7 separate regions of the Homo sapiens genome follow, and all the other regions are linked to region 7. The links are contacts of gene promoters, found by promoter capture Hi-C in blood cells and fetal thymus (Javierre and others, 2016). All regions are on one chromosome and are shown on one strand. The core of a region is centred on a gene start or on the middle of the fragment in contact, and the rest is flanking DNA. Distances in the headings are between cores, read along the strand shown.

What was found. Contacts are between HindIII fragments. The CHiCAGO score rates a contact against its expected background, and 5 or more counts as called.
Region 1: a contact is called between a fragment that was not itself captured here and the fragment with the promoter of ELL2 in region 7, in 2 of 17 cell types (M0 macrophages and M1 macrophages). The highest score is 6.8, in M0 macrophages.
Region 2: a fragment that was not itself captured here is called in contact with the fragment with the promoter of ELL2 in region 7 in 1 of 17 cell types (naive CD8 T cells); the score reaches 5.1 in naive CD8 T cells.
Region 3: a fragment that was not itself captured here is called in contact with the fragment with the promoter of ELL2 in region 7 in 2 of 17 cell types (M1 macrophages and M2 macrophages); the score reaches 5.0 in M1 macrophages.
Region 4: a contact is called between a fragment that was not itself captured here and the fragment with the promoter of ELL2 in region 7, in 1 of 17 cell types (erythroblasts). The highest score is 5.9, in erythroblasts.
Region 5: a contact is called between a fragment that was not itself captured here and the fragment with the promoter of ELL2 in region 7, in 1 of 17 cell types (erythroblasts). The highest score is 7.1, in erythroblasts.
Region 6: a contact is called between a fragment that was not itself captured here and the fragment with the promoter of ELL2 in region 7, in 5 of 17 cell types (total CD8 T cells, M1 macrophages, M2 macrophages and 2 more). The highest score is 6.3, in total CD8 T cells.

Annotation. Positions count from the first base shown.
Region 1 is chr5:96,646,446-96,649,808 of GRCh38, reverse strand. It overlaps a transcript of CAST not described here. Among named protein-coding and RNA genes, the nearest start is that of CAST, 14 kb to the left of the region's middle. RefSeq lists an enhancer at 1,647-1,716. The HindIII fragment of the contact is 3,268 bases long and covers 1-2,979 here.
Region 2 is chr5:96,718,718-96,722,418 of GRCh38, reverse strand. All of the region lies in intron 3 of CAST (calpastatin), which reads right to left. Among named protein-coding and RNA genes, the nearest start is that of CAST, 58 kb to the right of the region's middle. The HindIII fragment of the contact is 1,062 bases long and covers 1,121-2,182 here.
Region 3 is chr5:96,679,568-96,682,979 of GRCh38, reverse strand. All of the region lies in intron 2 of CAST (calpastatin), which reads right to left. Among named protein-coding and RNA genes, the nearest start is that of CAST, 19 kb to the right of the region's middle. The HindIII fragment of the contact is 3,608 bases long and covers 1-3,377 here.
Region 4 is chr5:96,741,794-96,745,035 of GRCh38, reverse strand. CAST (calpastatin) reads right to left here. Exons shown (of 32, transcript NM_001750.7): 16 at 2,280-2,381. Among named protein-coding and RNA genes, the nearest start is that of ERAP1, 65 kb to the left of the region's middle. The HindIII fragment of the contact is 523 bases long and covers 1,731-2,253 here.
Region 5 is chr5:96,701,717-96,705,350 of GRCh38, reverse strand. The region is part of intron 3 of CAST (calpastatin); the gene reads right to left. It overlaps LOC107986363 (a long non-coding RNA gene), which reads right to left and starts at 6. Exons shown (of 2, transcript XR_001742454.2): 1 at 1-6. RefSeq lists an enhancer at 1,807-2,306 and a silencer at 2,546-2,675. The HindIII fragment of the contact is 5,929 bases long and covers 1-3,634 here.
Region 6 is chr5:96,612,675-96,615,839 of GRCh38, reverse strand. All of the region lies in intron 4 of LOC101929710 (a long non-coding RNA gene), which reads right to left. It also overlaps a transcript of CAST not described here. Among named protein-coding and RNA genes, the nearest start is that of CAST, 48 kb to the left of the region's middle. The HindIII fragment of the contact is 1,613 bases long and covers 1,023-2,635 here.
Region 7 is chr5:95,959,787-95,963,297 of GRCh38, reverse strand. It overlaps ELL2 (elongation factor for RNA polymerase II 2), which reads left to right and starts at 1,447. Exons shown (of 12, transcript NM_012081.6): 1 at 1,447-1,723. The coding sequence starts at 1,577. LOC101929710 (a long non-coding RNA gene) reads right to left here and starts at 1,297. Exons shown (of 5, transcript NR_130776.1): 1 at 1,262-1,297. It also overlaps a transcript of CAST not described here. RefSeq lists silencers at 891-1,358, 1,314-1,553, 1,624-2,033 and an enhancer at 838-1,595. The HindIII fragment of the contact is 3,633 bases long and covers 201-3,511 here.

The DNA.
Region 1 (3,363 bases), core at 96-2,595, 690 kb before region 7:
CTCTAACAGGAACATGTTACATTTGAATGGTATTTTACAGTTTGAATGCCGACAATAAACCTGTGATGATGCAGGATGAACATAATTTTCATTTTATTATTTAGGAAACAGTTCAGAGACTGCTCAATTGGGTCAAAGTTACATCACTAGTTCTGGTGGAAAACTAGAATCCAGTTCTATGACTCTTTCAACAGACTTATCCACTAGCCCCAGAATGATTGATCAATGGGGAAACCAAGGTGGCAAAGGTGGCTTGATCCAAGGTGGCAGAGGGCCAGAGAGCAGATCAATGAAAGAGAGTTAGAAATCAGGCCCGTTGACTTCAAATATTTACGAGAAGATGACAAACAATGGATCCTGGGAGAGGTTACATTCCCAGGGCTGTCTCATTATTCGACTTATGTGAATAGCAAAATTCTTTCATGAGAGAAGAACTTTAACCCTGCTTATTAAAAGAAAACATCTGCAATGTCAGACAGATGCCAGGAACACATGTTTGTGTTGAGACTGTATAATGACAGAAACACAGTAATTTATTGTCCTTGTCAGAAACCAAGGGCTGCAATGGGAGTCTGAGGCTCACTGACATGAAAAAACTTTTTAAAAACAAATCTAACAGCAAAAGACTGAATCTTTTATTAATTTTAAATTCTTTTGGCAATTGTATAAGATTGAACAGCATGAAACTGCCATCTCTGTAGGTTAAAAACTTTGAATATAGGCAATTTTATATGGTTTGAGCTAACATTTTTAAAAAGACATGTCTTGCCCTATGAGTACCTCTATTCCTATTAATATAGCCATACATCGACAGAGCTACAGACTGTTTATGCAACAAAAACATGAATCCTGTATCCACCATGTGCCAGACAGTATTCCAGGCCCTGGGGGTAGATCTGTGAGCAAGATGAAGTCCTTGACCTATTAGCTGGAGTCAGGTGAATGGACCATCTTTACTGAGTAGGCGTCTCAGAGCTAGGGCTTCAGAATCAATTCAGCCTGGAATGAATTCCTGGCTCTGCCACTACCTAGCTGTGTGACTGTGAACGAGTGTCTTATTACACCACACACACACACACACACACACACACGCATATATATAAATAAAACTTCTCCCAGTTTCACAATGCAGAGGTACTAAGTACTCATAAATGTAGCAATTGTAACTATTACGTTTGTTATTACTTGCTGACTGAAAAAACTTTTCCTTCAAAGATGTTGCCACTTAAAGAAAAATAATACACAGATATATTAATTCAAGTGCTGAAACTTAAATATACAGATATATTAATTCAAGTGCTGAAACTTAAATATACAGATATATTAATTCAAGTGCTGAAACTTAAATATACAGATATATTAATTCAAGTGCTGAAACTTAAATATATAAACTTAAATATACCTAAATATTAAATATACAGAGAGAAATAAATAGTTTATGAGGAGAGGAGTGTAAACTTGGCAATATAAAGCATTCACAGTCTTGCTGAGTGACTCTATCCTGAAAGACTTAATCTAGAAAGACCAATAAGGAAGTGAATCTGCAGACAAGTTCTGAAAGTGGGTTTTGAAAGAGGGGAAGGCACACAGTTTAGCAAAAAGAGGGTGGTAAGTCATTCTAGGCAGAAGAAACAACTTGAGTAAAAACATCCAAAGCCTAGTGGAAAATATAACCTAAAGGATAGATGAGTTCACACAGAGAGAAGTGATATTGTAGTGTTTCTTCCTACAAATACTGGGGAAACACAACCTAAGTTGAAAAAGCAGTTACTCTTTCCAGACTAAATTACCAAAAGCAGAATTCAAATTCACAAGGGGCATTTCCTAGTATAGGAAAGAATTGGAGAAAGTCACAGCTCATTTTGAACTGGAGTCTTTTTCACTTTTGTCCAATTATTTCCCATCCAGAGTCCTTAGGCTGATATAACAAACAGCTTCAAACTAGGTGGCTTAGAACAACATAAATTTATTATCTCACAGCTCTGGAGGTTACGAATCCAAAATCAAGGTGCACGCAGGGCCATGCTCTTTCTGAAGGAGCTCGGGAAGGATCTGTCCTAGCTCCCTGCAGGCTTGTAGCAGTGTAATTCCACTCTCACACGGTGTTCTCCCGGTGTGTGCCTCAGTTTAGTTTATTTATTTATTTATTATGTATTTTTAACAAGGAAATCTGTCATATTGGATTACGTCCCACCTTAATGACCTCATTTTAACTTGATTACCTCTATAAAAACCCTATCTCCAAATAAGGTCGTATGGGGTTAGGACTTCAACATATTCATTTTGGGGGGACACATTTCAACTCATAACACTTAGAAAAAGGAAACTGATCTAATCATAAAAAGTGATACTGGCTAGAACAGCACAAGGTGGTATAATCGAAGGTTCATATAGGTAAAAATCCTATTAAATCTAAAACGGTTTTACAAAGCAAGGAAACTTCCTTGCAACAAGGCTATTTTTACCACAGAACTGTACTAGGTGTTAATTTGAATAACAAGTCATCCTCAGTGTATGATCTTGTACAACCAATGCCTTTGAAGTCTGGATTGGATGTAATTAACAAAAACGATATACCGAAACCTAAGGACTCCGGTTGAGACTGCAGGTGTGGAAAATGGAGCTGTGGGAGAGTTGGGGTTTTTGTTTCCTCCGATCCGTGTATGTCACTAAGCAGCAACAAATCACCCAACAAGCCAGTGCCCCTAACTCCATCACAAACATGCCAGCAGTTCCCAGCAGAAAAGTCAAGCCACTTATAGAAACAAAAATAATCCAAGCCTCAAAATGATTCAAGAAGATGGTGAAATGGGAGATGGTATATTCATTACAACTTTTCATTTGGTAGTCCGCAACAGAGAGGTTGGGCATCAGTAACAGTTTCACCTTCACCTCCTATCGTTTGGCTAAGTGATTTCTAGAAGTACAAGTTACTTCAGCAAAAGAACTGGAAATTCTAGAGATTCTAAGTGATAAGCTTTAACCTACACATTATACATGCACTTGATTTATAATATTTATTTTTTATTGGATATCTAAAATTATAATAGACAAAGAAATGCTGTGTTTAAAACAAATAAGTTGAATAATAAAAATCAATCGATGATGAGAGGCAAATATTCCCTGTTTACATGTGCAGCCCCACAACACCTCCCCAGAGGCAACCACTATTTATAATTTTTTAATATTTTAATTCCAGGAACAGCCAATAGAGCAATTTATATGTGGTTATGAAGAAAATTTATATAAAGAATATTTCTGTTTTTACAGACATACTAGAATACTATCTACACCATTTTTCACATTGCCTTTTTCATTTAACAATACATCTTGCAAGACAGTCCACATCCCCTTACAGAAATC
Region 2 (3,701 bases), core at 402-2,901, 760 kb before region 7:
GGTAAGATACTTAAATTTTATAATCTCCAGTTTCCCAACCTCAATTTTTCTTTAGTAGTTAACAACTACCTTGTAAGTTTATTATTAGAATTACTCCCTGGCACATAATGAATGCTCAGTAAATATTATTATAATTACTGTTTATGTTATTTTCAGAAAAAACATGGATTTTGCAACTCAACAAAATTTTGTTCAAGCCCCAGCTCTGTCAGTTACAAGCTCTGTGACTTTGAGCTTTGTCTTCCAGGTCCATTTACATACAAAGTACAGTAACATCTATTTGCAGGGTCGTATTTGAGATAGTGTGGCAAAATGTCTGGCAAATTGCAGATGCTCATTAAATTGCCAGTGTGTTATTCCTAATACATAAGATAGAAGGACAAAACTCCCGTAAATAGACTTGGGTGGATGTGAACTGTCCGTTCAGTGTCATGTAAGAAAGAGAAGGTGGAGACAAGGTTACAGAGGGAATTCTACTGCATTATGTCTCATCTAGGCTCTTCCTTAGAAGGCAAGAGGTGATAAATAGTAACTATTCAAGGAACACCCTTCCTTGAGATGCTTGCAGTGGTGCAATCAGCCCCTGTGATCCAGTCATCTAAGTACTGGGATGTGTGTGTGGATACTTGTATGGTTTGGAGTACTATTCTAGTACTTAACTTGTATTACACTGGTTAATATTAAACAGATAATTATAATCTTTGCAAACTCCTACCCAGACTCATTTAAACCTCCTTAACACTTAAAGTCCATTAGGTTTTAGAACCCAGGGATTCCATCTGGCATGAGCTGCCTTCTTAAGTAACTGACTGTCAGTAAACAGCTGCTACCCTGCCAACAACACCCAGGGAAGGAAGCCTGTAAGATGGACCTCACTGTGTCCCTAATGCCTGGTCCAGAGCCACTTCAGAGGCTGAGTCACAGGGCAGCATGAGCCCATTCCTGCTTCTCCCTTACCTTCCCCCACCCCCAATACACTACCACTCAAGGTGATTGTATGAAACCCACTATAGTCTATGGCCCATGAACAAAATCACCTTCCCCACAAACCTCAGTTAATGCAGAACACATTGATGCTTGTAGTTAAACTATCATAATTTACAGACAGAAATCCAAAGCTTTAGTATACTTATTTTTCAAAAATAATCATATAAACATAACTATTCCTGAGAACCCTTAGGCACCAACTGGACACTCCCTTCCACCAAAATACACACACACGCACACATACAAGAAGCCCCAGTCACTGTAGCAGGGCATGGAAGGGCCTCTCTCATATTCTTTTTGGTACTGAAAACTGTAAGATGTACCAAGACAGATTTTCCCTCTATCAAATTAATGGATAAATATATGAATATCCATATTTTTCCTTGAAAATATTTTAAAACATTATGGTGCTTAATGTCCCTGTATTTATGTAATTCTATCCTTCCATAATTGGAATTGATTATACAGATTTCCATTCAAACTCAAGAAATTCCACTTAGCTGCATTCCATTCCTTTAATGATTCCCCTCAACCATGCAACACCAACACAGAAACCAAACACTCTATGTGAAAGTGCTTCTGAAGCTGAAAATCTTTAGGTAGACATATTTTCCACACATCCAAATGTATTAAATCATCCATAAAATCACATTGCCTTGAATTGTCCAGCCTGCCTTGTTACTTTATTAAACAATACCTTGAAGTGATCCTCAAATTCCAGAAAGGAGAAAACTTTCAGAGGGCCCCCATGAACAGTAAAATCTCTATACAGAACAGCTGAAAATCAGCAATGGCGCAGGGTGTAGTGGGAATTTAGCTGAGGGCCTTGGCCCCTGTTGGCAGCACAGATTACTGCATGAAAGTTTTCTTCCCTCACTAAGGCACTAACCATTTTAAAACTGAAATATGAAAGCTGCTTCATGGGAGCTGGAAGTAGGGAATATGCCCACCCCATTATTAATCCATTCGATTCTGGCTACAGCTTGTTCAATTTTTATTCTCTCTGTAAAGACAAGCAACTTTCAATATTTGTAATCTCTGGTGAATGAATGAATACACTTTCATTGTATACTCTTTTGCATTGTTTGAATTTCGTATCATTGATGTGGATAACATTTATAATAAAAAATTGTGAAGGGTTAATCCATAGATCTTCAAAGAGAAAGCACCTTAGTGATAAAGTTTAATACAAGCTTTAATATACAGGCTTTAAACAGGTGAGAAAAATGGAATCTCATGTCCAAGATTTTACCAGAGTTCATTGGCTCCCCCAGGTGTTTATCCAGAATATGCTCTGTGCCAGGTACTGTGTCAGGTGCTGGGGACACAGAGGTAAAACCAGTAGGCATGTCCCTGCCCGTATGAAAGCTATAGCCTAGTCAAAGATGGCATTAGTAGAAATAATCACTCCCAACAATTATTTGCTACAAAGGAAACTCACAGGGTTCCATGAGAATGTAGATGAGGGAACCATAGCAGTTCAGGGGATAGTTGAGACAGGCAGTTCTGATAATGTGACCTGTCATGCGGTGATTGGAGGATAAGGAGGGATCGCTCAGGCTGGAAAGGAGCACTCTCTGCACGAGGACCCTCCGAGCTGTGTACGCCAGGCCTGGGAGCTTGGCCATCTGACTTCTAACCCAGGTCCCTCTACTGCAGTGCCTGCCACTTGGCTGGTCCTGCTAACATCAACGGGCTGCCAATTTTAAAGCACAACCATCAGTGCTCATATACACCAAAATACCTCTAAAGAATTAATACTGTAAATCAGAGTATAAAGTGCTGCTATCAAAATACTACCCCTCCCAAATGACCCATGTACCTATCTTAATATCCCAAATATTAGTAATCATTTATAAACTTGAATTAAGGCACAAGTCAGAGTAACAAGAAGCAGAGAAAAGTTCCTTAATAGAAATTACTCTCCACTCACCCGCCTATTCAACAATTATTATTTAAAAAGCAATGTACAGATGGGTGCAATGGCTCACACCTGAAATCCCAGCACCTCGGGAGGCCGAGATGGGAGGACAGCTTGAGTCCAGAAGTTGGAGACCAGCCTGGGCAATGTAGTGAGACCTTGTCTCTACAAAAAATTTAAAAATTAGCTGAGTGTGGTGGCACGCGCCTGTAGTCCCAGCTACTTGGAAGGCTGAGGTGGGAGGCTCACTTAACTGTCTTGTGAGACTGGATGGGAGTAGGGAGGGTTCTGAGCTCCCCAGCAGGTCCTGGCAAGTGAGCCAGGATGGGAAGGTAAGGGCTTCTATAGAAGCAGGGGCAGAGGAAGGGGGCTCCTAGGATGCGGGCTCATCCATTGCGCCACTACATGTAGCTGATGGAACAATCATTCCCTCAGCTCCTTACTTCTTTGTCTACCACACATTAGAATCCCTTCACGTCCTCCTGGCCTCTTGCCAGGCACCTCCCACTGGATTACAGGAATCCTCTCTGCCTCCCCTCCAGCCATTCAGCCTCCCCGTGATCTCTCCCCTTGACCGCAGCTGGCTTGGCTCGGAACTTGGCACAGAGTGGGGCATCGGATGCGTCAGAATTCTTTCTCCTCATGACAGACCTTCCTTCCCTTCTCCACCCCATCACTGGCAGCACTCCCATATCCTCCCACCTGCAACACTACTTGCCCTTCACACACCTGAATCTGTCTTTGTTTGTTGAGGGTTACTAAGAACACTGGGCTGCGTGCATGTTCCCTCCTT
Region 3 (3,412 bases), core at 324-2,823, 720 kb before region 7:
GGGAGGATGGGTTGTGCGCAGGGTGTGGCAGTAGCATGCTGCACCTGGGGGAGTAGTTGTCCTAAGTACAAAGTGGCCTTCTTGGGGGTGGAGGTAAAAAAAGCCGCATTAGCAATCCTTGCTAAAAAATGGAGTTATTCCCTGCATCTCATTTCATACAGTGGATGTTCTGTAATGAATGAAAGTCCACTAGGTAGTGGGGATTTTACCAGCATTGTGCATATTCACCTGCCAAACAGCTGTAGGTCTGAGGAGATTTAGTTAGCAGGGACATAGATGAAGAGCAGGGCTAAGGACAATGTGCTCATCACAGCTGACAAGCTCTAGGAGTAGGCCAAGCTCTCCTTAAAAGAGTAATCAGAAAGAAATTTTGCCTCTCAAAACCACCACAGAGAAAGGCAGAGGGCATCATTACCCCGAAGACTGAAAAAGACAGATCTCATAAAATGATACAGAATAAGAAGAAAATTCAGACAAAAGTGTACATCCTTGATAGGAAACAAGATGGTATTACCTTCATGAAATGGAGTAAAGAGCTATAGATTGAGATGGAATGATAATGGAGTGAGACAAAGAGGTAAGAGAGGATAAGAAGGGGACACAAAGAAACCAAAAACGAAAACCAAAATTTAAACCTGTATTAGAAGTTTCAAAGAGCAGAATTTAGAAATAAAATATGTGGGGGGCAAACTTCAGAAACTCTCCTAGAGTGCAAGGGTAAATGTCAGCAAAAGAAAATTGTGAGGCAGATGATTAGTGAATGTCTAATGTCAGAATTACAGTAGTCTCTCTTATCTGCAGTGGATATATTCTAAGATTCCCCAGTGGGTGCCTGAAACTGCAAATAGTACTGAGCCCTGTATTCACTATGGTTTTTCCTATACATACATACCTATAATAAAGTTTAATTTCTAAAATAGGCACAGTAAGAGATTAACAACAATAACTAATAATAAAATATAACAATTATAGCAATATACTGTAATACAAGTTATGTGGATGGGGTCTCTCTCTCTCAAAATATCTCATTGTATTGTACCGTGGGTAACTGAAATCATGAAAAGCGAAACAGCTGATAAAGAGGAACTATTGCATATGTAGGTTTAGGAAGAAACAAGGGAAACCGAAACAAGAGTAATAATTAAAGAAATAATGAAATAACAGACATTCCAAGACAAATTAATAAAGAAAAACACATATTAATATATAAGTACATCCTGGTAGTATTTTTTTTTTTTTTTTTTTTTGAGACGGAGTCTCGCTCTGTCGCCCAGGCTGGAGTGCAGTGGCGGGATCTCGGCTCACTGCAAGCTCCGCCTCCCGGGTTCACGCCATTCTCCTGCCTCAGCCTCCCAAGTAGCTGGGACTACAGGCGCCCGCCACTACGCCCGGCTAATTTTTTGTATTTTTAGTAGAGACGGGGTTTCACCGTTTTAGCCGGGATGGTCTCGATCTCCTGACCTCGTGATCCGCCCGCCTCGGCCTCCCAAAGTGCTGGGATTACAGGCGTGAGCCACCGCGCCCGGCCCATCCTGGTAGTATTTTTAAATTGTAAGAACAAAAGAAAAAAATCTTGCACCAAGGCAAGAAAAATAGGCTTCCTAAAAAGTAAGTCAAAAGTAGGCTGCCTCAGACATCTCTGAAGCACAAAAAGCCAGAAAACCACGAAGCAATAGATACAGAATTTTGAGGAACAAAACTGTGACCCAAGGATGTTGTACAATTTTGTATTGATGGACTTTCTTGTGAGTCACCAACGAGAAAACATGCTTACATTCACACACTCAGAAAATCATCATTGTGCTCCCTCCCTGAAAAAAATATCTTAGAAAATACTCTGGTCAATGAAACAATAAATGAAAATTTCAAATGAAAAAATGGGGAAACCACAGTTGAAAAGAATCTTGTAACTTCCCAGAGTCACTTTAGCCTCCCAAGTCAGACTCAGCTCCCAAGTCGCACCCAGTGCGAGCCTGTGCTGGCCTCTTGGGGCTAGATATCCCGGTGAGCCAGGCATGACTGCCTCGGTGCAGCTTTTCGGCTTAGCTTTTCTTGGCACTGAGACATGAGCTTGTGCAGCCACAATCGACTCCCCACAACTAGTATGAACTCTCTTGTCATGACATAAAAGAATGTTAAAATGTTTGCTGCAGTACTCTTCTAGAACTTGCTAATGACAGCTAAATCACTTGTGGGAACACTGTCACAAATTACTTCTTGAATAAGAAGTAAATTTCTCCTCCCTTCAAAAACAGAGCACAAAATAATGAACATTAAATGCCATACTGAATGCCAAGGTGCTTGAATAATGGTTTTCTATATACTTAAATGCCACACACACTGATGGGTCTTTTTTTAATTGGAAAAGATTTATCTATCACAAAGCACATTATTTATCATTTTCAGACTAGGCCCTATAATGGTGTTCCTTTGCTATTTCTGCTTAAAAATCAAGATATGCAGCATTTCAGTAAACAAAATAAGCAAACAAAGAAAAAAGATGCAGGAAAATACACCAAGATGTACATAGTGCCCATTTCTCTAGGTGCTAGAATCCTAGATGAGGGTGTTTATTTTCCATTTTTCTTTTCTTCTTCTTCTTTTTTTTTTTTTTTTTTTTTTTTTGAGACAGAGTCTCGTTCTGTTGCCCAGGCTGGAGTGCAGTGGTGTGATCTTGGCTCCCTGCAACCTCCGCCTCCCAGGTTCAAGCAATTCTCCTGCCTCAGCCTCCCGAATAGCTGGGACTATAGGCGCCCACACCCACGACCACGCCTGGCCAATTTTTGTATTTTTAGTAGAGTTGGGGTTTCACCATATCGGCCAGGCTGGTCTTGAACTCCTGACCTTGTGATCCGCCCACCTCAGCCTCCCAAAGTGCTGGAATTATAGGCATGAGCCACCACGCCTGGCCAAGGGTGTTTATTTTCATTAAATTCTCTGGTACTTTCTAATTTTTTTCCAATAATTATATTTTAGCTACACAATCATTAAAAAGTACTAAAATTGGCATATATAATAATTATAAATACATGACATTATCGCGTTAATTTAAGTATATACACACAAGTTTAGAGCAGTAGTTTAAGCGGTAAGACTCAGGGTAATATTGTTTTTCACAAGTATGTATTACTTTTGTGATTAAAAAAGTCTAACTTTATTAAAAGAAAAAAGTAAAAAAAAAATGTTTGAGTCATTCAACATTGAATTCATGCATTCTAAAAGGAGGAGAGGTAAACACTGAGGAAAAGCATGCCACCAATGCCATTAGAGTAAGGAAAATGTAAAAAAACATCTTTTCCTTTAAGGCAGAATTTCCGTTCGCTTTTATTTGTGTTTTCTTTACTCATAAAAATAAATCCATTGTTAAATTTGAAGCTTTTAAAATTGGCTCTCTGAGATCATGCCCGTTTTA
Region 4 (3,242 bases), core at 743-3,242, 780 kb before region 7:
TCTTTGATCTTTATAGTCTTGAAATGCCTGCTCTGGTTTGTATACAGTAGGCATCGAAAAAAAAGAGCCTACTGAATTGAAATGGCACTAGACTAGGCAGCCACACCTAAAAATGTGGGAGACTTATAATGGGCTATCATTAGAGAATAAAAAACTTTTATTTTATGTTATGGTAGATGATGGGAATACCAAGTAGGCATGGGTTTCCTCTCTGGAGTATTGTGTGGTTTTCCACAGATAGCTCTCTATTCTGGGGTATGCTGGGGTGGCAGTGGACACTCCTACAGGCTGACAGTGACCTTCCTGAGCCTTCTCATCACATCAGACTATCTAGGATGTAAAGGACCCACTAAGTCGGGTACTAAGAATTCAGGTTAATAATCTAGAGGACTGAAAGATCCTCTTTAGAAACATTCATACTTTGTATATGATTAAAAAGGAAAACTAGTGATATGCTTTGGCTGTGTCCCCACCCAAATCTCATCTTGAATTGTAGCTCCCATAATTCCCACGTGTCGTGGGAGGGACCCAGTGGGAGGTAATTGAATCATGGGGGCGGAGCTCTCCTGTACTGTTCTCATGATAGTGAATAATTCTCACTAGATCTGATGGTTTTATAAAGGGGAGTTCCCCTGCACATGCTCTTTTACTTTCCTCCATGTAAGACGTGACTTTGCTCCTCATTCACTTTCCACCGTAATTATGAGGCCTCCCTAGCCATGAGGAACTGTGAGTCAATTAAACTTCTTTCCTTTATACATTACCCAGTCTCTGGTATGTCTTTATTAGCAGCATGAGAACAGACTAATACAACTATTATGTCATAAGAGTGGAAAAGAGGAGTTCTTTTTGCTGGAATTTTAGTTTGCTGCGACTCTGAAGTTTTCTAGAGGGAACTTAATACATTCATATGCATTCCCAAACTAGTTACCCACATGTTTAAATAACTTATTTTATGTCACTTTTTTTCTTAACATCTGCTTATCTGCTTTTAGTCACTTTTAAGACTCCTTTGATCCTGAGGTTTATGACATGTTTATACCCTCCCTTCCCACATTAATTGTCTCTCCTTAAGTGTCTGTAAGAAGCTTGGGGCAGAAGTGCAATATACTTGTGGCCCTGTCGCCCTCAGGTGGTAAAGCCACAACTCAGCTTGGCCTCCTGACTCCCCCCAGGATTCTGCCAACACCCCGCTTTCCTCAAGATGACACTGCTTCTGTCGGCTACTCTAAGTAATGTATATCTCACATTGTGTTGTAATCAAGTTTCCCTTCTTCCCAATACATTACTTGGTCCTGGAAGATACGAACTGCTTCTCTTGCTCCTCTGCGTTCACCGTCACAAAGCTTATCGTGCCACACTGTGGCCGGTGAGCCCTCCAAGAAAGTCGAAGATAGAAACTGGCCCATCTTAGGCCAGGGCAGTCCCAGACTCAAGGATTGTTGCTGGAAGTCAGGGAGACTCCCCTTCCCTGATGACTCAGAACAGGAAGTGACAGCAGAGATGGGGCATTGTGACAGCAATGCCTGCCAGCACCCCCAGCCTGAGCTGATGGAGGTGGGGCGGGCTCCTGGGGATCCCAGGCTACCTTTCCATCTCCCCACAACACTGCCTTGTCAGGAACCGGCAACTCTCTCCTTTCCTTCCTCTTTCACCCCAGAGGACTGAGTTGAAAAATTCCACAAAAATTATAATTTAATATTAAAACTTTCGTACACCAGATGTAAGCTTGTTTTGGTTCAGAAGGCTTGTTAAGATCTTGGAGTGTGGCGGGATAAACACTCATCAGCATTATTCTATAAATATGCAGGAGCTCTAGTTAGGGTAATTGTTGCTTGATTTTAATTTGAGACAAAATTTTCAACATCTTTCCCCATAGTGATAAATGAAGGATCTTCCCACTCCGTGTATAGACATCTCCTTCTCTTATAAACAGAAGCACCCAGAACCCTTCTGAAAATACAAATTTCCAATTGCCAAACTTCACTATTTCCCACCAGGCATTGCCTCCTTGTTACCTTGTTTAGTCAAGGGTCATTTAAGCTCTAGCAAGGGAGATTCGTGTTCATTTCAAATGTTAAAATTCTAGCTGTTTCACAAGTCAGTCATGTAACTATCCCCCTTAGTTGCTAACCACTCAGCAATAAATAAGGCACAATGAAGAATGCTCACTTTTACTCTCCAATAAAAGTTGTGCGAGAATTCTAAACATGCAGAGTGCATTCGGTTTTGTAATGTGCAGACTAACAAGCTTTGTAAATCAACTCTAAGGTCAGTACCTCATCGACTTCCTTAATTGAGCGGAGGTCGAGCTCAGGTTCTGCTTGCCGGGTGCCCAGTGAAGCCGACAGAGCCTCGAGTGCTTGATCACTCATTGTATCCTGTTAAAAGTAAAAAATCCTGTGCATGAAAAAAGACATCTCTGGAGCCCGAACAATCCATTTACTTCTTTGTAAAATACATTTTAGATTATAAACTGAATATGGATTGGGGAAGTGCTCTAGAAAGGCAATTTTATTTGAAACCTTGCAAAAGAGAGAAAGGAAAAAGAACTTACCAATGAGTGGAAATTGGGGCTAAGACACGTTTCTACAGTAACAGCGTTCTCTGGGGCACACTTCACCCCTTATTTGGTAAGCTAGACATAAAGCTATAGTAATATTACTATAAAATACTCTAAACAAACAAAAAAAAAAGAAGCAAGTAGTAAACTGTTACCACACTATTTTTCTTTTTCTAAAAATGTATCTCTAAAAAGGCTTCTGACAACCTAAGCTTAGGAAGCAGGGAAGCTTGAAGTGGCCCCTGCTGCCTTCTTCTCTGAAGGCACAATGGCTGATCGTTGTAGGAACTCCCACTCTCAGGGGTGTGGTACTCACCACTGTTCCCCAGCCTGCCAGATAAAAATAAACTGTCCACTCCAGGAGGGGAGAGGCACAAGCTGCTCTGATAGAAACCGTTCCTGAGCATTATCTTGACTGTTTGCAGAGGAGACATGTGTTCCCAGCCAGCACAGAGCTGCAGGATTGCCTTTTGCGATTTGTGAGAATTATGTCATAGTGAAATATAGTTGAGAATGCTGGGCAGTACCAGCTACTTGGTGTCCCTCTAGTGATCCTCAGGGCTCAAAGTCCTTTATACAATCAAACTTGAAGGTTTTATGTTCCAAGAGTGCAATTTCTCTGGTTTCTGCCCTTCTGTGTATCATAATGGTGAGATGGTCTTAGATGATGACTGAGACA
Region 5 (3,634 bases), core at 587-3,086, 740 kb before region 7:
TTTTTCTTTTTTTTCTTTATATATATATTTTTTTGACACAGAGTCTCATCGCTGTGTCAGGCTGGAGTGCAGCAGCACAATCACAGCTCACTACAATTTAACCTCCCAGGCTCAACTGATCCTTCCACCTTAGCCTCCCAAGTAGCTGGGGCCACATAGGTGCACGCCACCATGCCCTAATTTTTAAATTTTTTGTAGAGACAGGGTCTTGCTATGTTGCTCAGGCTGGTCTCAAACTCCTGGCCTCAAGCGATCCTCCCTCCTTGGCCTTCTAAAGTGCTGAGATTACAGGCATGAGCCACCGTCCCTAGCCCTTTTTAATATGTTTTATTCAATTTTAAAAAATTGGATGTAGTACCCAACCAAAGTTCATTTAAATGCATGAAAGTGCTTTCGGTCACGCTCTGACATTCAGTGCGAGCAAAGAGCTCTATCTAATTCAGAATTGTCACCCAAAATGCCAAGACTATGCCTTTTGAGAAACATTAAGATGACATTTTTAAGTCAAGAGCGTCCATAGAGAAAAAATTAAATGCAATGTTCATGAAGACCTCCTGTAATTTTCTAGTAAGCAGATTGCTAATTCTATGTATCAGAAAAACTATGCGATATGTTCTTATGAGGTTAGACACACCAATGCTAAAACAGATATCCCAGATTCGTATGATCTCCAAATTGAGGGAATTATAAGGTATAATGAAAGAGGAGATACAAAGATATATATGAACATAGAAGAATATGGGTTATGGAGTTTTTATTTGAATAGGACTAATTAAGACAGTTCATATTTTGAGAAAAAGTAAATGTTTCCACCTAAGAAGTAGTGATCACTTAAAGTTAACTGTGATTATAAACAATGAATAGAAACATAAATACTCAGCTGATTTTCAGAAGTTATTCAAATGAAAAGAAAATGCTTTCTTTTTCTTTCTGGTTTCATTCTTTCAAACTGTTACTTTACGTACTAGCTTTTATGTTTTCATTGCAGTACAGATGTTATACTTAGTCAATTCTGCCAGAGAATAATCAAGGAACCAAAACTCCCCACTAATTCTATATAATCAACTACTCTCTGGCATTCGGACTCTTCTTTCAAAGCATCTGAACTGAACCACAGCCAATATTTATACTTGAATGTGCTGCTTCATAAACACTGTTTCACAGTCTACAAAGCATGCTGATTCGTAATAGACACCAGGAGTCCTTGCTGCACACACACGGGATCCCTAGTCAGCCTCATTGCTATAGGTGGCTTATTCCTTCTCCATCAGTCTACAGGTGTGGCCTTTCCTTGTTCAGCAAGATTTTGCTAAATTTCACTACTTCATTTTAATCCTATACTGCCTCCTAGAACCCAAGCAGCACACCCTCCCCAGCATATTCCCAACAACTCAATATTCCTTTTAGATACTGAAAAATCAGTGCACAAAAGTCGAATACATTCATCAGAAAGAAGCAATCTATATTAATATAAACTCTAGTGCTGATTAGGAAATAGACTTTCCCCTTTTGAACAGTAGATGCCACTCCTTGTTGAGCTTCCCTGCAATGCAGAGGTTTTTCCTCTGAAAAACATGTGAAACAGCAGGAACTTTCCAGAGCTGCTGATTAAGCATTTCTGTCATTCTGATGCATAGGTGGTTTCCTAGAAAACTAGAGAGGCCCCAAAGTCCCGATCCTTAGGGAAGCTGTCTAAACTCTCTGCCTCATTTTCTGAAGCTGTACAATGGGAATAAAGAACTTCCCCCTGCCTGTGTGTAAGTGGAGAATGCCGGGTCCCTAACCATACAGAAGAGAAAGTTAAATCTCTGTGAAAACACTTTGTATTCTTAAAAGATAGACACAAAGTAACCCTCAGTGATGTTATTCTACAACCGTCTCAGGTTGTGTAAAGGAAATGGAACCGAAACAGGTTACAACACTTGCCACGCCACACCCAGCATGTATCAGGTACGCAGAAAGGTCAGAGTGAGCTCACGCTCTAAAACGGAGGTCATCACAGGGTGGCGGCACGGCTGGGGAGGAGGAGATCTATCTCCAACCCTAGAGATAAAGGTGCCAAACCAAACTGACATAGCTGCTGCTTTCCTTCTTTTGGGCCACTTGTCTCGGGCCACTTGTCTCGGGCCACTTGTACCGGGCCACACAAATCCCTTGTTTTGTAACCCTACGCGTCCGGTCACCAGATACATTTCCCGGCGGAAGGGGCAGTAACAGTGTTACCGACAAGGAGGAGGAGTCGCCAAGAAACACAGTTAAACTCAGAACGCACGGTATCGCCAGGGTCGCGATAGTAGGAAAAGCGCACGTCCCGAGCCTGGGGAGTCCGCTGCAGGGACCAGGCCCCGGACACGCAGGGCAGGTAGCCGGGGGCACAGGCCCTAGACCCGGGAGCACGCGCGGCCTGGAGCAAAGCGGCGGAAGACAGTACTCACTCTGCGTGGACACCGGACCCCGCAGTCCTCGGCTTGGTTTTCAGGAGGTCTGCATTCCTAGCTGGGCTCGGCTCCCGCGGTTTCCGCTTGGAGCTCCAGCCCAGCTCTCTGAGTGCGACGGGGCGGGGCGGTCCCGGGAAGGCGACGCAGGATGCTCCCCGCCCCCCTGCCCGGCGGCCCCGCCCCGGGAGCCCGGGATGCGTGGGGAGGGAGGTCCCGCTCCGTGGACTCGTCATGCGCCTGGCATCTGGAGACTGGCTCACTCAATAACGCAGCCTGTGATGCGGACCACGTGCTGTGTGGGCTGCGCACCGCCGGCTGATTACAGGTTACCGCTCCCTCGGCTGTCACCCTGTGACTACCAGAATAAGGCAACGACGGTGGGTGCACTTCGCAAATATGCTCCCCCGAAGACCTCTTTTGAAACTATAAAGTGGATTAGTAATGACTACAACCAGGGATTTGCAAATGCAGTTAAAACTGTGTAATGGATTTCTTTAAAGAGTAGTTTAACAGTAAGAATTCTACCCGATTACTTTATATTATAGTATATTACAAACTTCAAAATTAGAATAGATTTGAAGCTATTGAATACAATATAAATTCATGAGTCTATACTGCTGTAAATAAATGAATGAATAAATAGAGGGGTTAAGCCACTCTTTCATATAGAAGGCCAACTAATAAATATTGAATGATAAGAGTTAGAGAAAATAATTATAAAAAATTTTAAAATAAATGAAAAGCCGTACACCAACCACATTAAAGGCTCTGAACCCTGAACTTGGGGTGTGAGTGAAGGAGGTAGTGTTGGTCACTGTTTGAGGAACACAGACCTCAGGACAGGTTGGACAGTGCTGTGTCGAGTCATGACAAATGATGGCCAGTGGCATGAAAAAGGTGAACTCATCCATACAGCTTTGTACCCCACCAGGCAGCCAAGGCAGTTAGGGCCCTCTGATGTACCTTTCAAGGTACTCCTCACAGCTACCTTATTTTTTTTGTCTTTTATTTCTGTCAAAAATCTAGTGAAATAAGAGCCCTTCCAACTTTAAGATTCTAACATTTCCAGAGCAGAAGACCCTGTCCTTATAATTTTTTTTTTTTTTTGAGGTGGGATTCTCGCTATGTGGCCCAGGCTGGAGTGCAGTCACGTGATCTCAGCTCACTGCAACCTCCACCTCCCAGGTTCAAGCAAT
Region 6 (3,165 bases), core at 580-3,079, 650 kb before region 7:
TATATATTTACCCTATTAGTTCTGGTTGTCAAGAGAACCCTAATACCAGAACATTTACACTTGCCCTAGTATAAGTCACTGAGTCTCAGTGGCATGGACCTGTTCTCGGGACCCCTCTTTCCCAGCAAATGCTTGAAGCAAGAACCATTAAATAATAGGACGGCTGATAATCTCCTGATTCCCTACTCACTACCATACACCTCCACCTGACCCCTCTTAGGCTCCCTGGCCTCCTTCCCTGGGGCCTGGCGTGGTGGAGCAGGTTGAATTCTCCCTCAATGTGCGTCTCAGCCAAGGACAGCCCACAGAATCCTTGTCTGTTTCATTCTCCCTGTTGCCATTGGCACATTAGCAAAGCAATCTGATAGACTGGACTATGTGAACACACTCTGGGAGACAGCCCTGTGCAGCAGCACAGACAGTGCTGACTGAGTCAATGGGAGAGATGGTTATGGCAGAGTAAGGGGAGAGGAGGAAGTGAGACCTGCCTAGGGACTGCCAAATGCCATCCTGTACAGCTGCTCTTTGGCTTACGATGGGATAAACTTACTGGAAATAGAAAATATTGTAAGTCAAAAATGCACTTAATACACCAAAGCTGCTGAACATCATAGTTTAGCCTAGCTTACCTTAAATATGCTCCAACAATTACAATAGCCTGTGGTTGGGCAAATCATCTAACACAAAGCCTGTTTTATAATAAAGTGCTGAATATCTCATGTAATGTATTGAATATTGTACTGAAATTGAAAAACAGAATTGAATTGCTGTATGGGTACTCCAAGTACAGCTTCTACTGAATGCATATGATTTCTGCACCATCGTAAAGTTCAAAAATCTTAAGTTGAACTATTGAAATTTGGGGGCTGCCTATACTAGGCTAAAGCCTACTCACAGCTCACTCAAGGCAGCGCTGAGGGCCTCCCCAGTGCCCAAATTATTGCTTTTAAGTAACTAAAAGGCAAGAGAATATAATGAACTCATTAGCCTTCTTAGTGACAGGTGCCTCATTTTACCAAGCTTAGGGTGGGAGCAGTACAAGATGATGGATCCTTTTCATAATTCAACTATATATATATATTCAGTTTTTAAAAAGAAAAAAAGCACTGAGGAAGAGGGGTAATCTGGCACCCCTGGGGAGAGGCTGGGCCTAGGCTTTGGATGGAGGTGGGTCCCTGGCATTATTCTTGGATTTCCTCTGAATCTTTGGACTCTGTTTCAGGTTTATCTGCCTGAATAGCTTCCCGTTCCCCACAGTGAATGAATCATTTCCTCTTCTAATCCCCTGCCAAACATTTCAAATCATGTTTCCTTTTCTTGGTTAAGTACCTAAATTGAACTCACTGTGATGAAAAAGCAACCCATGGAAAACAGTTTTCATTCTCATTTATAAGCCTCCTGCCATAAGGTTTTTGGGAGAAGCTCGTGGGCATGTCCCGGCTGGATGCTTTTGCTGAAAATCCCTTGTCAACACTGAGGCGCTGTAGTAGGTAAGATTGCACACAGCATCAGGAGTGAAAGGCCCTGATTCTGATTCACTTCACCGCAATAACCTAACGAGTCAGGCATTTGCCAACAGCTAACACTCCATCCAGAGGGAAATGGAATCATTTGAGACAAAATGATGAGCTTCTGCTGCCATCTGGTGGAGTTCTCACCTTTAATCATGTTAATTAAAGGGTTCCTCACCAGAAAATGCTGTAGAGTTAGTGGTGGTTCTGGAAGGGGTTCCTTGGACCGGCAGCATTTGTATTACCTGGTCACTTACTGCTGATGATATATTGTTAGTTACTTTATACCTTAGATTCCTTCATTACAAAATAGACATAAAACATCTAACTCATAGGGCTGTGAGGATACCCAGCCTCACAATGCAGATAAATGAACAACAATTTAAAAAACAGTATAAGGCACCCAGTATTAAATCTAACAAAAGATGTGCAATTATTTTAAAAAGTATAAAATTTCATTGAAAGACATTTGGGAATACCTAAATATTTGCAGGCTCCACCCCAGACCTACAGGATTAAGATGTACATTGTAATAGAAGTCCCAGGTTATTTGTATAGAGAATAAAGTTTGAGGTACTTAACGTTTTCTCCAGGGAGATAGGTAGTTACTATTGTTGTTGTTGTTTTGTGCCTTTGAATACCCTTAAGTTGTTTCATTTAAAAATGCTTTAAAGACAATCATCAGAAGACAGAGTATGGATTGGAGGTTAAGAACACAGAATTTGGGGTCAGATAGAACTTGTTTTGCATCCCGTCCCCATCACTGACTACTGATAACATGGTGAGTTACTTAATCTTTCTGGACCTTAGTTTCCTTAGCTAGAAAATGAACGTGAAAATATCTAACTCATAGGGTTGTGAAGACTTAAACAGAAAATACAGATAGCACAAATAGTAGTATTACAAAATCTGAAGTACCTAGTATTAAATCTAACAAAGGATGTGCAAATATGAAAAAAGTATGAAATTTCATTGAAAGACCTTCGAGAATACTTAAATGAAAGGAGAGATGAAACCATGTTCAAGGATAAGAAGAAAACTGTCATTCATCTTCAAATCCATCTATTCTAATGCAATTCAAATTATAACCTCAACTGGATTTTTATTGCTGAACTTGACAAGCTTATTTCAAAATTTGAATGGAAGAAAACAGCTAGGAATAGAAAATTCTGAAAGAGAAGAAGATGGAGAGGGTCACTCTACCAGATATCAAGACTTATTATAAAACTATAGTAGTTCAGGCAGTGTGCTATTGGCACAGTGATGGATGACTTGCCAGTGGAACAGAATAGAGAGTTCAGAAAGAGACTCATACATATTTGGAAATTGGATACATGAAGCAGTGGCATTACAAATCAATAGAACATGCATGGGCTAACTGATAAACATTAATTGGTTACCCACAGAGAAAAATTACATGTACTGTGTATTTACACATGTATATATGTGTGTATGTATGTATATATGTGTGTATATTTATTTAGACTTCTTGTTTATATCATACACAAAGATAAATTGTTACCCCGTTGATAAGAGATCTAAACATCTAAAGCAAAACTAAAATAAGTTTGAGGAAAATGCAGAAGAATTTTTGCATAATCTCAGTGTAAGAAAGAGCATATTAACAAAATCCAGTAAACCAAAATTATAAAGT
Region 7 (3,511 bases), core at 198-2,697:
CATTTATTGGGAGGGGAGGACATGGAATCATGGCCCTAATCCATTTAAAATAATGAAAAATACTGATTAAATATCTATAAACTTTCCCGGGGAATCCCAGTAGAACAGAACATGGTTTTATAAGCTGAGGGTAAAAACAAGCGTCTCAGTTTTTTTATTAAAAGAACTTTTTTAAACTGCCTTTCAACAGTTTGAAAGCTTTCAATGGTTTGTTTTATCTGGTGTTTCTGATCAACCAATTAATCCATCCTCTGACAGGAACCCATCTGTCAGTCTATCCACACACAATCTGAAAGGGACTCCAGATTAGGCTCCCTCTTTTAGCCACGCCTACACAGGAAGCATCCTGTGGATGGAATGGAAAGTATGCCAGGCCTTTGCACGCCCCTCACGCCCCCATCTCCTTCGCTTAACCTCGACAGCCTCTTACCTTTAAACCCTAGCTAGGTTTTCACACAGCCCTATCAAATAAAAAGGACAATACTCAAACTGAATTAGAGAATGAGAATTGTCGAGGTTTCTTTTAATTTAGATCAATGCCAGTTTTACTCTTCTTCTAGAGTCCTTTTTAAGGAGATATCATCCCCACCAGTTGTGATCCCAGAGAATCACAACAGGGCATGGCGTAGGAAAGACCTCGAAGCTCAATTCTCTATTATACCATGCCCACCATACGAAAGGCATTTAACCTCCCGCGTGATTTTGTCCTTAAGATGCTCCACAAGATCTAACACAACTCCTACATCTAAGAGTCGACTCACTAATTTCAAGGGTTTTTGTTTTTGTTTTTGTTTTTATAAGCTCTGCGTGTGGCACCCGATAACTTCAAGTTTAGAGTGAGCAGTTTCCTCCCAATGCCGTTTGCTCAACTACAGTACTAGGAGTTTTGAGGAGCAGCTCTCTAGCGAGTCCTCCTGCTGCGTCCTCCCCCACACGCACGCACCAAGTTCCACAGCTTCCGCAGCCGTCGGGGAACAAAGTCCTTATTTGGTCACGGCCATCCCCTTACATAGTGGAGGTGGAGATCCTCCTCTCCAAGGACCACCCGCGTAGGGCGAGATTCCCCAATTCTGACTTTTCACTACTATCCCCCACAGGGGCGGGGCTCCAACTCCAGGTAACCAGACCAGGCAACCTGGACTTCCAATTAGCAGGGGAGTCCCCAAGCCAGCCTGGCCAATCTCGGCCGGCTAGCCAAGACGACCAGACGTGACGTCAGACATGATTAAGTTGGCGCGTCACCTAGACGTCAGCCTCTTACCTCTCGGACGTCCCGTCCCAGGAGCAAAACTCTAGTGACTTTGGGCCCGCCCCCGTGAGAGTGGAGGGCGGCCGATGAGGGCGGTTCTGAAGGGAACAAGACCAATGAGACGAGCCCGGGGCGGGGCGCGGGGCCGGAGGGTGGGGCGGGTGGCGGCGGTGGCAGTCCGAGGTCTGGCTCCGCGCAGTATATGACAGTACGTCAGCAGCGGGATGGCCCTAGCAGTGGCGGCGGCTGCAGAAGCCCAAGCAGCCGCGGCCGCAGTGGAGGCTAGAGCCGGAGCGGCGGCGGCGGCGGCACCCCGGGGAGTTTAAGATGGCGGCGGGGGGGACAGGGGGCCTGCGGGAGGAGCAGCGCTATGGGCTGTCGTGCGGACGGCTGGGGCAGGACAACATCACCGTACTGCATGTGAAGCTCACCGAGACGGCGATCCGGGCGCTCGAGACTTACCAGAGCCACAAGGTGAGCGGGCCGGCCGGCAGGCTGGGCTCAGAGAGGCAGAGCGCACCCCTCACGGCCTGGCCGCGCCCGGGTGCGGGGCCGGCGGAGCCGTGGCTGGCAGCTGCTACCGTCAGCGCCCGCAGCGGCCAGGCAGGGCAGGGCCGGGCAGGGTGGCTGACGCCGCGGTCCCGGGCTAGCCTGGGCGTTGGGGAAGCGGGCAGTCGGGCGGCCCCTGGCGGCGGGGCCGAGGCAGCCGCAGCCCTGGGTCGGCTGCGCTGCCGCTGCGGGACTTTCCGACGGCCCCCGAGGATTTCCTGGCTTGTTGGGTCCCAAGGAGGGAGAGAGGCCCCGATAAGAGAAGTGAGATGACCACGCTACCCTCGGCGGGGAAGGAGGGTAGCGAGCAGCGTATGGGCAAGGAACCAGGGACGACTCGCGGGCACCAGCTGCCCGCGTTTTCCAGTTACATAGGCACGGTGGATCCTCAGAGACAGGACACAGGCGCTCCGCGTGTGGGGGTGGGACCTTGTATTCCCAGGGACTTGGGGACACAGGCGCTCCACGTATCAGGGGACACACTGTGTGCTCGAAGGGATGGGGACTCGGGCGCATGGTGAGGGGCACACGGTGTACTCATAGAGATAGGGACTTAGGCAGTCCGTGTAAGGGGGCGGCGCACACTGGAACGGCGGGGACACTGGCGCTTCGCGTACGGGGGGGGAGGGGACACACCTGCATTCCCAGGGACTCCGGGACACCGGCGCATCGCGTTACTGGAGACGCGCCGCGTCCAGGACGGACACAAACCAACACAGTGCCCTGGGGAGAGACCTGAGGACTCACGCACACTTAGCGCTCCCCGGGAGCAAGACATCGGGTTCTGGAGAGAGAGGTTCACGGACGCTCAACGTACCCGAAAAAGCTCCCGGCGTCTTGGGCTGACTCTGGGAAGTGTAAACGGGGAACGAGCCAGAGCCAGAAGGTGTGGGGAGGATACAATGCATCCCGGGCAGAGACTCGGGCCTCTCACCCCTCGTTTTCGAGAGAAGCCCATGGACACACACACACACATATACACACACACCCCTCCAGTACAGAGAGAGGCTCAGATAGGCGCACATACACTGTAATTGGACTACAAATCCAGACGCTTTCATGTTGGAAAAAAAATGGGAGAGACAGGGAAGCACCGAGAAGGGACGCGGTAACCAGGGTGCATGGGGAAACAGTTTATGGACATGCAGTACTGTGGGAGACCGGAGTGGATACATCGCGTGAGGGAGGGATATGCCATATGGGGGAACCTGTAACGTTTTACAGGAGAGGAGAGAGTCGGAAGGGAGATAGAACCCACGGGGCATCTTACAAATAGCCCGTTCGGTACTGAGGAACACACTCCAACCGGTCTCGTACAACAGACAGAGGGGCAGAAGGACACCGAGACACAGATTCACATAGTTATTCAGCTAAAAGTGGGGAAAAGAATTGACATCTGTTGAGCTCCCACTAGTGCCAGGCACTTTAAATACATAGAGCGAAGGCAGAGTCTGAGGCAGAGCGGCAGGAGAGGTGTGAACCCTGGTTTACTGGGAGTGTATTCAGAGAGCCCCCCCACCCCATAAGTGTGCACACAGAGGAAGGCATTAGTTGTGCACGCTTTGGATAGAAAATGAACTCACATGATAGGGTATTTGTAAACAGCAGTGGAGGCTCAGAGGTGAGTGTATTGTTAGGAAGGTACTCACAGAATTGGGTGGACACATGAATGTACGTGCTAGGACACTTGTGTTACTAACCAGAGAAGCATAT